Linked DNA regions of Homo sapiens: region 1 is linked to region 2. Evidence: promoter capture Hi-C in human tissues and cell types (Jung and others, 2019). All regions are on one chromosome and are shown on one strand. Each heading gives the region's core, a stretch centred on a gene start or on the middle of the fragment in contact. The rest is flanking DNA. Distances are from core to core; before and after follow the strand shown.

Evidence for each region. The method cuts DNA at HindIII sites, captures the fragments that hold promoters and counts their contacts. A contact is called where the count stands out against the background at its distance.
Region 1: a fragment that was not itself captured here is called in contact with the fragment with the promoter of NAT9 in region 2 in 1 of the 25 tissues and cell types used here (hippocampus).

Annotation. Positions count from the first base shown.
Region 1 is chr17:75,020,106-75,026,045 of GRCh38, forward strand. MRPL58 (mitochondrial ribosomal protein L58) reads left to right here. Exons shown (of 6, transcript NM_001545.3): 4 at 208-290; 5 at 383-552; 6 at 816-1,156. The coding sequence ends at 900. Among named protein-coding and RNA genes, the nearest start is that of MRPL58, 10 kb to the left of the region's middle. RefSeq lists an enhancer at 1-922 and a silencer at 5,086-5,243. The HindIII fragment of the contact is 7,781 bases long and covers 1-5,940 here.
Region 2 is chr17:74,772,996-74,778,588 of GRCh38, forward strand. NAT9 (N-acetyltransferase 9) reads right to left here and starts at 3,350. Exons shown (of 7, transcript NM_015654.5): 1 at 3,272-3,350; 2 at 2,627-2,712; 3 at 581-693; 4 at 1-44. The coding sequence starts at 2,703. It overlaps SLC38A12 (solute carrier family 38 member 12), which reads left to right and starts at 3,504. Exons shown (of 10, transcript NM_017728.4): 1 at 3,504-3,582; 2 at 4,269-4,380. The coding sequence starts at 4,336. RefSeq lists an enhancer at 3,032-3,151. The HindIII fragment of the contact is 11,963 bases long and covers 1-5,593 here.

The sequences.
Region 1 (5,940 bases), core at 2,153-4,652, 250 kb after region 2:
GGGTGCTTAGTTACTGGAAGTCTATTTTTGCCCAAAAGTGCCTCACTGTCTTTGCGGGCTTGTTCATAGCCAACTTGGACATAGGCTACAATGTACATGGTTAGGTGTCTGGCCTCCCTTTATTTCAGAATGGTCACTGGTCACCCAGGGGTTGATCCTTCCTGGAAGTCTCAGGCACCCATGCTCCCTTCTCCCTTTCCTCCACAGTGAATTCCAAGGCAGAAGTCAGGTTCCATTTGGCAACTGCCGAGTGGATCGCGGAGCCCGTGCGGCAGAAGATAGCCATCACGGTAACCACCATCCCTTTCTTTCCCTAGAAATCCCTCAGTGGCTTTTAAACCTTTACTCTGTAGGACTCCAGTTTTTCATTTGTTCTCTGCAGCATAAAAACAAGATCAACAGGTTAGGAGAGTTGATCCTCACCTCTGAGAGCAGCCGCTATCAGTTCCGGAATCTGGCAGATTGCCTGCAGAAAATTCGAGACATGATCACTGAGGCCAGCCAGACACCGAAGGAGCCAACAAAAGAAGATGTTAAACTTCATAGAATCAGGTACCAGGAAATGCCCTAAGATGCTATAAACTGATTTGTGTGGACAAGAGTCTACACAGGTAAGGAAGGGGCAGGGGAGAGTCCAAGGCCGGCCTTGGGAGAAACTCTAGGAAGAGGAGAGGATGCTGACCTGGGACCGAGGCCTGCGGGCTAGTGCCTGCTGGTGTAACTGCTCGGCTTCCCGTTGAGCTCCCAACTCCTCTCACCACTTTGAAAAGCACTGATTGGGCATCTGGGGCTAATTGCAGTCTTTTTGTTTTCAGGATAGAAAACATGAATCGGGAAAGGCTGAGACAAAAGAGAATTCATTCTGCTGTAAAGACAAGCAGGAGGGTCGACATGGACTGAAATCACCCTCTGCAGCTGGGAGGGCTCTTCTGGGCGTCCGGGCAGCTGCAGCTGAGAGGACTTTCACACCATAAGGAGATTTCTGTTTTTCTTTTTGGCTGTTAATGCTTGTCTATAACATTGGAGCCATCACAAGAATGTTCATTTGGAATGAAGGCTGCAGGCACTGGTTGCAGACGTCTTTATAGGCAGTCACCATGTTGTCAAACCTTAATAATGCACCTCATGTATTAGTCACAATAAAAATCAGAACTCATTAGGCTTCCCTTCTCATTCAGAATGCTTCAGAAAACAATTCCTACCTTTTCTCTCAGTTAAATCAGCCGCACAGTTATCGACACAGCACTGGGGAACAGGAAAGGGTTCTGGTGTCTGCTGTGAAAGAACACACAGGCCAGGCGTGGTGGCTCACGCCTGTAATCCAAACACTTTGGAAGCCAAGGCAGGAGGATCACACGAGGTCAGGAGGTCAAAACCAGCCTGAGCAACATAGCAAGATCTCATCTCTACAAGAACTACAAAAATTAGCCAGGTGTGGTGATACATGTCCATAGTCCCAGCAACTTGGGAGGCTGAGGCAGGAGGATCACTTGAGCCCCCCAGGAGTTCAAGGTTGCAGTGAACCATAATTGCACCACTGCAGCCTGAGTGACAGAGCAAGACCGTGTCTCAAAAAAAAAAAAAAACCACCGGGCGTGGTGGCTCACACCTGTAATCCCAGCACTTTGGGAGGCTGAGGTGACCAGCCTGGCCAACGTGGTGAAACCCTATCTCTACTAAAATAGGTGGTGGGCACCTGTAATCCCAGCTACTCGGGCCGAGGCAGGAGAATTGCTTGAACCCAGGAGGGTGACGTTGCAGTAAGCCAAAATCACACCACTGCACTCCAGCCTGGGCAACAGAGCCAGACTCCGTCTCAAAAACAAAACAAAAAGAAACTACACACACAACCAGGTAGGAGGGCTGAGACAGGTAAGTGGGCATTTGAGCCGGGCTATGGAAAAGGCATGGGACTTTCATCAGTAGACGGGAGGCGGACATGCCATTTGAAGGGAACAATGAACACAAGAGACAAAAGAGGCTGAGGTGGAGGGGGTGACAAAGAAGGCAAAGGCACTGAATGGTGGATTCGTGCAGGGTGATCCACCATTGCAGCGGGAGGTGAACCCAGAGAGAGACCGGCTTGATGTGGAGAGCCTTGAATTCAAGTTAAGGAGTTTAGGTTCTTTTATTTTTGAGATGGAGTCTCACTCTGCCATCCAGGCTGGAGTGCAATAGCGTGATCTTGGCTCACTGCAACCTCCTTCGCCCAGGTTAAAGCGATTCTCCTGCCTCAGCTTCCCCAGTAGCTGGGGTTACAGGTGCATGCCACCATGCACAGCTAATTTTTGTATTTTTGTAGAGATGGGGTTTCACCATGTTGGCTGGGCTGCTCTTGAACTCCTGACCTCAGGTGATCCGCCCACTTCGGCCTCCCAAAGTGCTGGTATCACAGGCGTGAGCCACTGCACCCGGCAAAGGTTTTAAGAGATGTGGGTAACAGAAAGCTGTTGGGAGAAAAGCTGAGCGTTGGGAGAAAAGCTGAGTGTTGGGAGAGAAGCTGAGGCAGGGCTTGCATGTCTGCTAGACTTGCTGGCTCCTTGCTTCTAGCACTCCCATTCTCTCAAGCAGCCGTATGTTTCTCCTTCACTTGATACACTTTCTTTTCAACCCCCACATCCTCACCACCTGTTTCTTTGAGCACCAATAAATACCGTGGGCTCCCAGAGCTGGGGGTCTTCACAGCCTCAACACTGGCGATGGCTTCCTGGTGCTACTTTCTCTCTCAAACTGTCTTTTTCTAATTCCTTTGACTCCGCCGGACTTTGTTGCCCCCATGACCTGGTGTTGGGTCTGATCACCTCAACATTCCTGGCTGCCCAACGTGGGGTGACAAAGACCCTGGTGAAGGAACGCTAGAGCGTGTGAAAGCGGAGAACACATCGTCAAAGGACACCCAAAGGCGTCTAAAAGAAGCTCGGCAGGAAAGCTGAGCGCTCGGAAGAACCAGGGTAACAATGGGATAAAGTGAAAGACATTTTGCTTATTTAAATTTATTTTATTATTTTTTTTTTTTTGAGAGGAGTCTTGCTCTGTCGCCCAGGCTGGAGTGCAGCGGCGCGATCTCGGCTCACTGCAAGCTCTGCCTCCTGGGTTCAGGCCATTCTCCTGCCTCAGCCTCCCGAGTAGCTGGGACTACAGGCACCCGCCACCGCGCCCGGCTAATTTTTTGTATTTTTTTTTTTTAGTAGAGACGAGGTTTCACCGTGTTAGCCAGGACGGTCTCGATCTCCTGACCTCGTGATCCGCCCGCCTCGGCCTCCCAAAGTGCTGGGATTACAGGTGTGAGCCACCGCGCCCGGCCTTATTTAAATTTCTTAAGGCATTTATTACGAAGAGGGGGAGTGAAAGTACTCAGAATTTGTTGGCATTTATTATGAAGAGGGGGAGTGAAAGTTAGTACTCAGAATTTGTTATCACTCTTTAGTACAGTAAAGCAGTTTTGCCCATGGCTTCCGGAACAAGCGACTATGGAGTTGGATGAATGGGAGAGAATCGGCAGAGATTTTTAAAAGGCGTATAAAGAGGGAGCAGATATTCCAGTTTCTATTTGGTCATGTGGGCGCTAATAAAGGCAGCTCTTGAGCCATTTCAAACAGATGATGAGGCAGATTGAGATGAGGAAGAGGAGGATGAGTGTAAAAAACTAACTTCAGATTCTGAGTGTGAGGAACAGCTACCGGAGGAGATTAAAGAAAGGAAAACTAAAAAAAGTATGTTTTACTAGCCCGTCGGCGCCCCCTGCTAAATTAAGTGAATGGCCACCTCCTCTCTCTCCTCTTAATGGGTGAGAAGATGAATTAGCTGAAAAACTTACTACTCCTATAGTTGCAATATTAAAACCTGGAGCAATTGGTGATGCTATAGAAAATTCTATTCATAAAGCTAGAGCCGAGGGAGACCTTGAAGCATGGCAATTTCCTGTTACTATCATCCAGCAGAGAAGACAGAATACAGCTAATTGGCCACTTTTCCTTTTAAGTTACTAAAGGAATTTAAGCAAGCCATTAGTCAATACGGACCGAACTCTCCTTTTGTGCAAACTCTATTAAAAAATATGGCTCTTGATAATAGATTAATACCATGTGGCTGGGATACTTTGACAAAATCTGTTCTCACCCTATCTCAGTATTTGCAGTTTAAAACCTGGTGGGCTGATGAAGCTCAAACTCAGGCAGGGGAAAACATACAAGCACAGCCACCTGTGCCTGTTTCCTTTGAACAGTTAATGGGAGTTGGCCCTAACTGGGGTTGATTAGAGAAATCAAGCAGTAATGGAGGATGCTGCCATTGTTCAGCTGCGCTTTGTGTGCTTATGGGCATGGGAAAGGATAAATGTTACAGGCGAAAAACATCCTTCTGTCAGTTCTATCCGTCAAGGACCTAAAGAACCATATATTGATTTTATTGCTCAGCTCCAAGAGGCTGTGTATAAAGCCATTACTAATAAAACGGCTCAGGATGTTGTAATACAGCTTCCTGCATACGAAAATGCTAGTGCAGTGTCAAACTGCTATTAGACCCCTGAGAGGGACGGCTCATTTAGCTAAATATATTAAGGATTGCGATGGCATTGGAGGTAACTTACATAAGGCAACTCTTTTAGCTCAGGCTATGGCTGGATTAAGAGTAGGAAAGAATATACCCCATTTCTCAGGCCCTTGCTTTAATTGTGGTCAATTTGGACACCCAAGAAAGGAATGTAGAAAAGGAAATCAAAAGGCAAACATTACTACCATCAGTCAACAGAAAAGTCCCGGTATATGTCTCCAGTGTAAGAAAAGCAAACACTGGGCAAGTCAGTGTCATTCTAAATTTAACAAGGATGGACAACCTCTTTCAGGAAACGGGAAGAGAGGCCTGCCTCGAGCCCCTCAACAAACCAAGGCACAGCCATGCCCTTACAAACGTGCAACAATTGTCCCCCACTTCAGCAGGCAGTGCTGCCATAGACCTCTACAGCACAATTACCATCTCCTTAGGAGAGGTGAAGCCGACTGGGCTTCTGGGTCGGGTGGGGACTTGGGTAACTTTTCTGTCTACCTAAGGATTGTAAACACATCAATCAGCACTCTGTCTAGCTAAAGGTTTGTAAACGCACCAATCAGCACTGTGTAAAAACGGACCAATCACCTCTCTGTAAAATGGACCAATCAGCAGGATGTGGGTGGGGCCAAGTAAGGGAATAAAAGCTGGCCACCCAAGCCGCAGTGGCAATCCGCTGGGGTGCTGTTTCATGCTGTGGAAGCTTTGTTCTTTTGCTCTTCACAATAAATTTTGCTGCTGCTTCCTCTGGGTCTGCACTACCTTTATGAGCTGTAACACTCACCGTGAGGGTCTGTGGCTTCATTCCTGAAGTCAGCAAGGCCACGAACCCATCAGGAGGAACCAACAACTCCAGACGTGCCCCTTTAAGAGCTGTAACACTGCAAAGTTCTGTGGCTTCACTCCTGAAGTCAAGCGAGACCACAAACCCACCGGAAGGAAGAAACTCCAGACACATCTGAACATCTGAAGGAACAAACTCCGGACACACCATCTTTAAGAGCTATAACACTTACCATGAGGGTCCGCGGCTTCATTCTTGAAGTCAGCAAGACCAAGAACCCACCAGAAGGAACCAATTCCGGACACACTTCCTGGGGAGCCACCAAAGAAGGTCCCCATGGGAGTTAGGAGACCCTTATCCTCAGGAACAGTCGGTCTATTACTTGGAAGGTCTAGTCTAAATTTAAAAGGTGTGCCAGGTGTGGTAGCTCACGACTGTAATCCCAGCACTCTGGGAGGCCAAGGCAGGCAGATCATGAGGTCAGGAGATTGAGACCATCCTGGCTAATATGGTGAAACCTCGTCTCTACTAAAAAATACAAAAACTAATAGCCAGGTGTTGTGGTGGGCGCCTATAATCCCAGCTACTTGGGAGGTTGAGACAAGAGAATG
Region 2 (5,593 bases), core at 2,100-4,599:
CTGGGCCTGCCACTTCTCGGCATCCAGCACAATGAAGGTACACTCTGAGGAGGAGGTGACAGGGCTATCACACACACTCCCCAGAGGAGAGAAGAGAGGATGGTACTCCTACCCAAGCCAGAGCACTGCAGAACACCAGCATCTCTGAGTCTGCCAGGAGAAGAGGGGGTCCCAGAGCTTCCTTCAGCTCATTACAAAATTCCAAATCTGCCTCATACAGAAAAAGCCTCTCCAACCAGCAACCAAATTCTCAGAGAGCAGGGAACACAGAGGAGGGCAGTCACCACACTAGGCTGTGGTGAGGGACATGAGGGGCAGGGCCTCAATTTACAGCCAGAGCCCCAAATGCTCTACTTTCTCCAAATCCTTCCAAGCCCGATGCAGTGGGTGGGGAAGAGGACAGAAGGGTCAGCCACAGGGACTGGCTTCAGGGCCATGAGAATACAGGAGTTCCAGCACCTTCCAGGCTTTTCACAAAGCTTCTATGGCCGGGGCTGGGAAAGGGAAGGAACCTGGAGACTGACTGTGGAGTCAGCCCTCCCAGTACCAGGGCTAGGGGAAGTGGGGGGGCACTCCTCACTGTCTGCATCTTCCTGCCAGCTGCACTGCATGGCATACTCCTGCTCCAGGGTCAGCGGCTCCGAGGCTGTCAAACGCTGCAGCTCCTCTGATTTCATCCACTCGTGGTACCTGCTGGGACAGAGGGGTGGCTTTAGACATGGAGGACTCATTCAGAGGCATACGTCTGACACCTTATGAGGGTCCAGAACCAGACAGGGCTAACATAGGGCTCAAAGAAGACCCAAAGGGTTATGATTGCTCCTAAGGCAGGGGCCACAGACACAAGACCCAGAAGCAAGCTAGTCTTACACAAGAACAGCAGGACGAGTCAGTTCTATCTGTCCAATTTCCTATCCTGTCTCGGGTCAGTGCGGAGGAGCAGTCTGAAACCAAACATTCTTCAAATTCCAGAAGGGGATGTATATGGCAAGCCAACCTCAACAAAGGCGGCTGGACAGATCCCACGAAGTTAGGGCACCAGGAACCCTCAAACGGAAAACTACAAGTAGAGAATACCCATCTACAGCACCACTATCCCAATCTACCAGACATGTGCCAACTGCCCCCACAGGAATCCCATCATGACTCAGTCCTGGCCTTTTGAATGGTAGATATCACAACTCATCAGCTCAGAGTTCAAGGACAAGCTAACATTAAGTCTCCAAGAACTGAACATACTCACTGGCACCAGGGAAACATCACTAATTTACAATTAGGTGAGAAGACAATTTCTTTTTCTTCCACGTTTAGTTTACATAAAGCAATTCCTTGCTGAAAGGCCAAAAAGCTGAGAGAATGAAAGGGAAGAGGATGGGCAGCTCCTCCCAAGGAAGTCACAGTCCCCAGGTTCTGCTATTTTTTTTTTTTTTTTTTTTGAGACAGAGTTTTACTCTTGTTGCCCAGGCTGGAATTACAGGCATGTGCCACCATGCCCAGCTATTTTTTTTGTATTTTTATTAGAGACGGGGTTTCTCCACGTTGATCAGGCTGGTCTCTTTTTTTTTTTTTTTTTGAGACGGAGTCTCGATCTGTCACCCAGGCTGGAGTGCAGTGGCGCGATCTCGGCTCACTGTAAGCTCCGCCTCCCGGGTTCACACATTCTCCTGCCTCAGCCTCCCGAGTAGCTGGGACTACAGGCGCCCGCCACCACATCCGGCTAATTTTTTTGTATTTTTAGTAGAGACGGGGTTTCACCATGTTAGCCAGGATGGTCTCGCTCTCCTGAGCTTGTGATCCGCCTGCCTCGGTCTCCCAAAGTGCTGGGATTACAGGCGTGAGCCACTGCGCCCAGCCTTTATTTTATTTTATTTTATTTTTGAGACAAAGTCTCACTCTGTTGCCCAGGCTGGAGTACAGTGGTGTGATCTCGGCTCACCACAACCTCCACCTCCCTGGTTCAAGTGATTCTCCTGCCTCAGCCTCCCAAGTAGCTGGAATTACAGGTGCCGGGCAACAAGCCCAGCTAATTTTTTGTGTTTTTAGTAGAGATGGCGTTTTATCATGTTGGCCAGGCTGGTCTTGAACTACTGACCTCATGATCCACCCGCCTCAGCCTCCCAAAGTGCTGGGATTACAGGCGTGAGCCACCGCACCCGGCCGTTTTTTTGTTTTTGTTTGTTTTTGTTTTTTTGTTTTTTTTGTTTTTTTTTGAGACAGGTTCTTGCTCTGTCACCCAGGCTGGAGTACAGTGGTACAATCACAGCTCACAGCAGTCTTCATCTCCTGGGCTCAGGCAATCCTCCCACCTCAGCCTCCCTAGTAGCTGGGACTGCAGCTGTGCACCACCATGCCTGGCTAATTTTTGTATTTTTTTGTAGAGACAAGGTCTCGCTACGTTACCCAAGCTGGTCTCGAACTGCTGGGCTCAAGCAATCCTCCTGCCACAGCCTCCCAAAGTCCTGGAATTACAGGCGTGAGCCACGGCACCCAGCCTTTTTTCCCCCCTCATATATAATTATTTCTCACAACCAATGTTTCTTCTTAGGGGAAATAGCCCTGAGACTGGGGCTGTACCTTACACAGCTCTGGGTGCTGATACGCACCCCATGTCAAGCGGGAAAGATACCTGGGCACATGCTCCGAGGTGTAGGGTACAAGGACCACCTTCTTCCCCAGCAGCAAGGTGTTCTGATTCAACCTCATGGTAGCAGCCTGCATGCAGATGGGGAGAGCAAAGACTTCAGGACCCTGAATTTCCTCCAACTTTGGGTAGGCGCTCCAGCTTTCCTGCTGGGGCTAAGTTGACTTCCGTCATTAGTTCCGTCTAGACACTTCAAAGAATACAGACTCCAAAATTCTTGCAAGAAAGAGAACCAGGCTGGTTAAGGATAATTAAACAATCCTTGACTCCCACTCCAAGAGGCCAAGCCTGGGCTCCGTTTCTGCCGGTTCCTTCCGTCCACTCCCCAGAACTTCGATTCCTCAAACCCAAGCACCAAGTACCAAGTACCAAAGTATCCCCAGAGCTCCCATTACTTGCCCCAGTCCAGGGATTCCAACCCAGAATCAACTTTCAGCCCTGCCTTAAACCTACTTCCAACCTCTTACCCCGGCGACCACCCCACGGGGCTCTAGCCACTCCCTCCCCGCCCCCGACCACTTCAGGGCAAGGCGGGCTTAGTCTTAGGCCCTCCCCTTTGAGTGGCGTTCTAGACCACTCTCTTCGACCCTCCAACCACGCGGACCCGGGTACTGCCAAGCTCACACCCACCTACCACCGACGAAATCGTCCCCCGCAGAAAGGGTGATCTACCTCCTCCAACCAGCCACGTTCCCAGGCCCGGCCGGCTACCGCCCCTTCCGCATGCGCGTGAGAACGCGCCCCGCCCACTTCCGCCATGCTGACGGCAGCCGCCAGGCCCCAATCCCGGTCCCGCCCCCGCGAGGCGCCCAATCAGCGCGCGCGAAAAAGGTGGGCTGTGGGGCCGGCGCATGCGCGCTGCGGAAGCTGGTGCTGGACAGCTGGCGCCGGCAGCAGCGGACCGGCGGGAGACGGCGGCTTGGGAGCTGGCTGTGCTGCAGGTGTTGGGTCGGGTCGGGTCGGGACGGGCGGGAGAGGACGAGACGGGTCGGGATAGGTTGGGGCGGGGCGGGGCGGCACTAGACTCGGGACTCCTCCAGGAGGGAGAGAGAGGGAGAGGCTGGGAGTGGGGTTCTTGAGAAAAGAGGGAGCTTTGAGGGTGGGGAACCCTAAGAGAGTAGGTGGGGCCAGGGAGTGGAGGCCCCATTAAAAAAAGGAGGCCTTAGTGCCAAGAGTGGAGTTGGAAGGGCAATGTAGGAAAGCCCCCAGCTCCCTGCCCTAGGCAGAGGCGGCAGACAGTTCCTTGGGCTCCCATGTGTGGTAGTGAGCTCCTGGTTCCTGGAACTAAACGAGGATAACCACCCCAGAGCGTGGAAAGGGGGCTCTTGTGGTGGGTGAGACTTAGTGGTTTTAGAGGCCCCTTAAATCACTTGCACCCCGAGCAGCATTGAAAACATCCGTGCTGGGCACAGAGCAGTGCCCTGCACAGCAAGGGAAATGTTAGAAGAAACCGTCCAGATTTCTGTCATCCAGGGTGACCCCTCCCTCGGGGGTGAGTCTTGTGACAGATACTGAGGCCCTAAGTGTCTGTGATAAAAGAACCAGAGGTGGCAGGGGAAGTCTGCAAGCCTCCTCCCACCCCTGTCTCAGTCCATCAGATAGGTGAAGCCTGCTCTTTTGTTTTAAGGAGCTGCGGCAGCCGCCGTCCTTGCACCTAAGGAACCTCTGCTGCCAGCCCTTCCTCACTTTTGGAAATGGCGGGTGAAATTACAGAGACCGGGGAACTCTACTCTTCCTACGTGAGTGTGACTTATAGAACCTTTTGCTCACTTAAGTGTTCCTGGCTTCTAGAAAAGCACATTGCTTGCTGGAGATGGGACTAGTGAGTGCTGCTGCTTGAGCAGACCATAGTGGAAGCAGGATGGGGGAGTTCCATGGGGCAGCGACTACAGTGCTGCTGTGGTGGCTCAGAATGTAAGTCAGATTTATTCTCTTTTTAAGGTGTTTGTCAGAGTGGTCAAGCCAAACAAAATCGCCATGCTGTTTATAATGTTAATCCCGGGCTGGGCACGGTGGCTCACGCCTGTAATCCCAGCACTTTGGGAGGCTGAAGCGGGCAGATCACCTGAGGTCAGGAGTTCAAGACCAGCCTGGCCAACATGGTAAAACCCTGTCTCTACTAAAAATACAAAATTAGCCGGGCATGGTGGCACTGTAATCCCAGCTACTCGGGAGGCTGAGGCAGGAGAATCGCTTGAACCCGGGAGGCGGACGTTGCAGTGAGCTGAGATCGAGCCGTTGCACTCCAGCCTGGGCAAAAAGAGCGAAACTCTGTCTCAAAAATAAAGAAATAATGTTCATCTCCAGGCTACCACACTTGCCTGCAGTGCTGCCCTTCAGATGAACAGTGATTGACAGCTGTTGACTCTGGGTTTTGCTCATCTCAGCAGTTGGAAACCGCTTTGGTCTTTACTGAATTTTAAATTGCACAACTTTTATAGTCTTGGATGGCGTAAGAAGCAGCGAAAGCATACAGAGACTTCTAATTACAGTTTGGTGGACTCTGCAATTAGAACAATTAGAATGATTGATTCTCACTGTCTTAGGTCTGTGTTACCTCTGGCTGCCCCCAACACACACGCAGTTTATCTTCTCTATGTAACGTATGATTGGTCATAGTTGTTACATCACAGGGCCCTCTTGCCTGGATAAGTAGCCAGAGGGTTGGAATAATCAGATGGTTGACTCAGGTTGCTACCAACCCTCCCAGGCAAAAGCAGCACTGCCCTAAGTAGCAAGAGTTTTCTAGAACTTGACCTGCCTTCAACAGCTGCCCTGCCTTGTACATAGCTTCCTAGCCTGGGGATCTCTGGTCTGTTTCTGCTAGCTTCACAGACTAGCATTGTGGTGTGATGGACAAGGAAGTGTCTCCAAGACATTTCCTTCACAGCTGGAAGAAAGCCTTCCTGATTCCAGAGTCTTCCTATTGGGCCTGTGCCATTCATGTGTGGC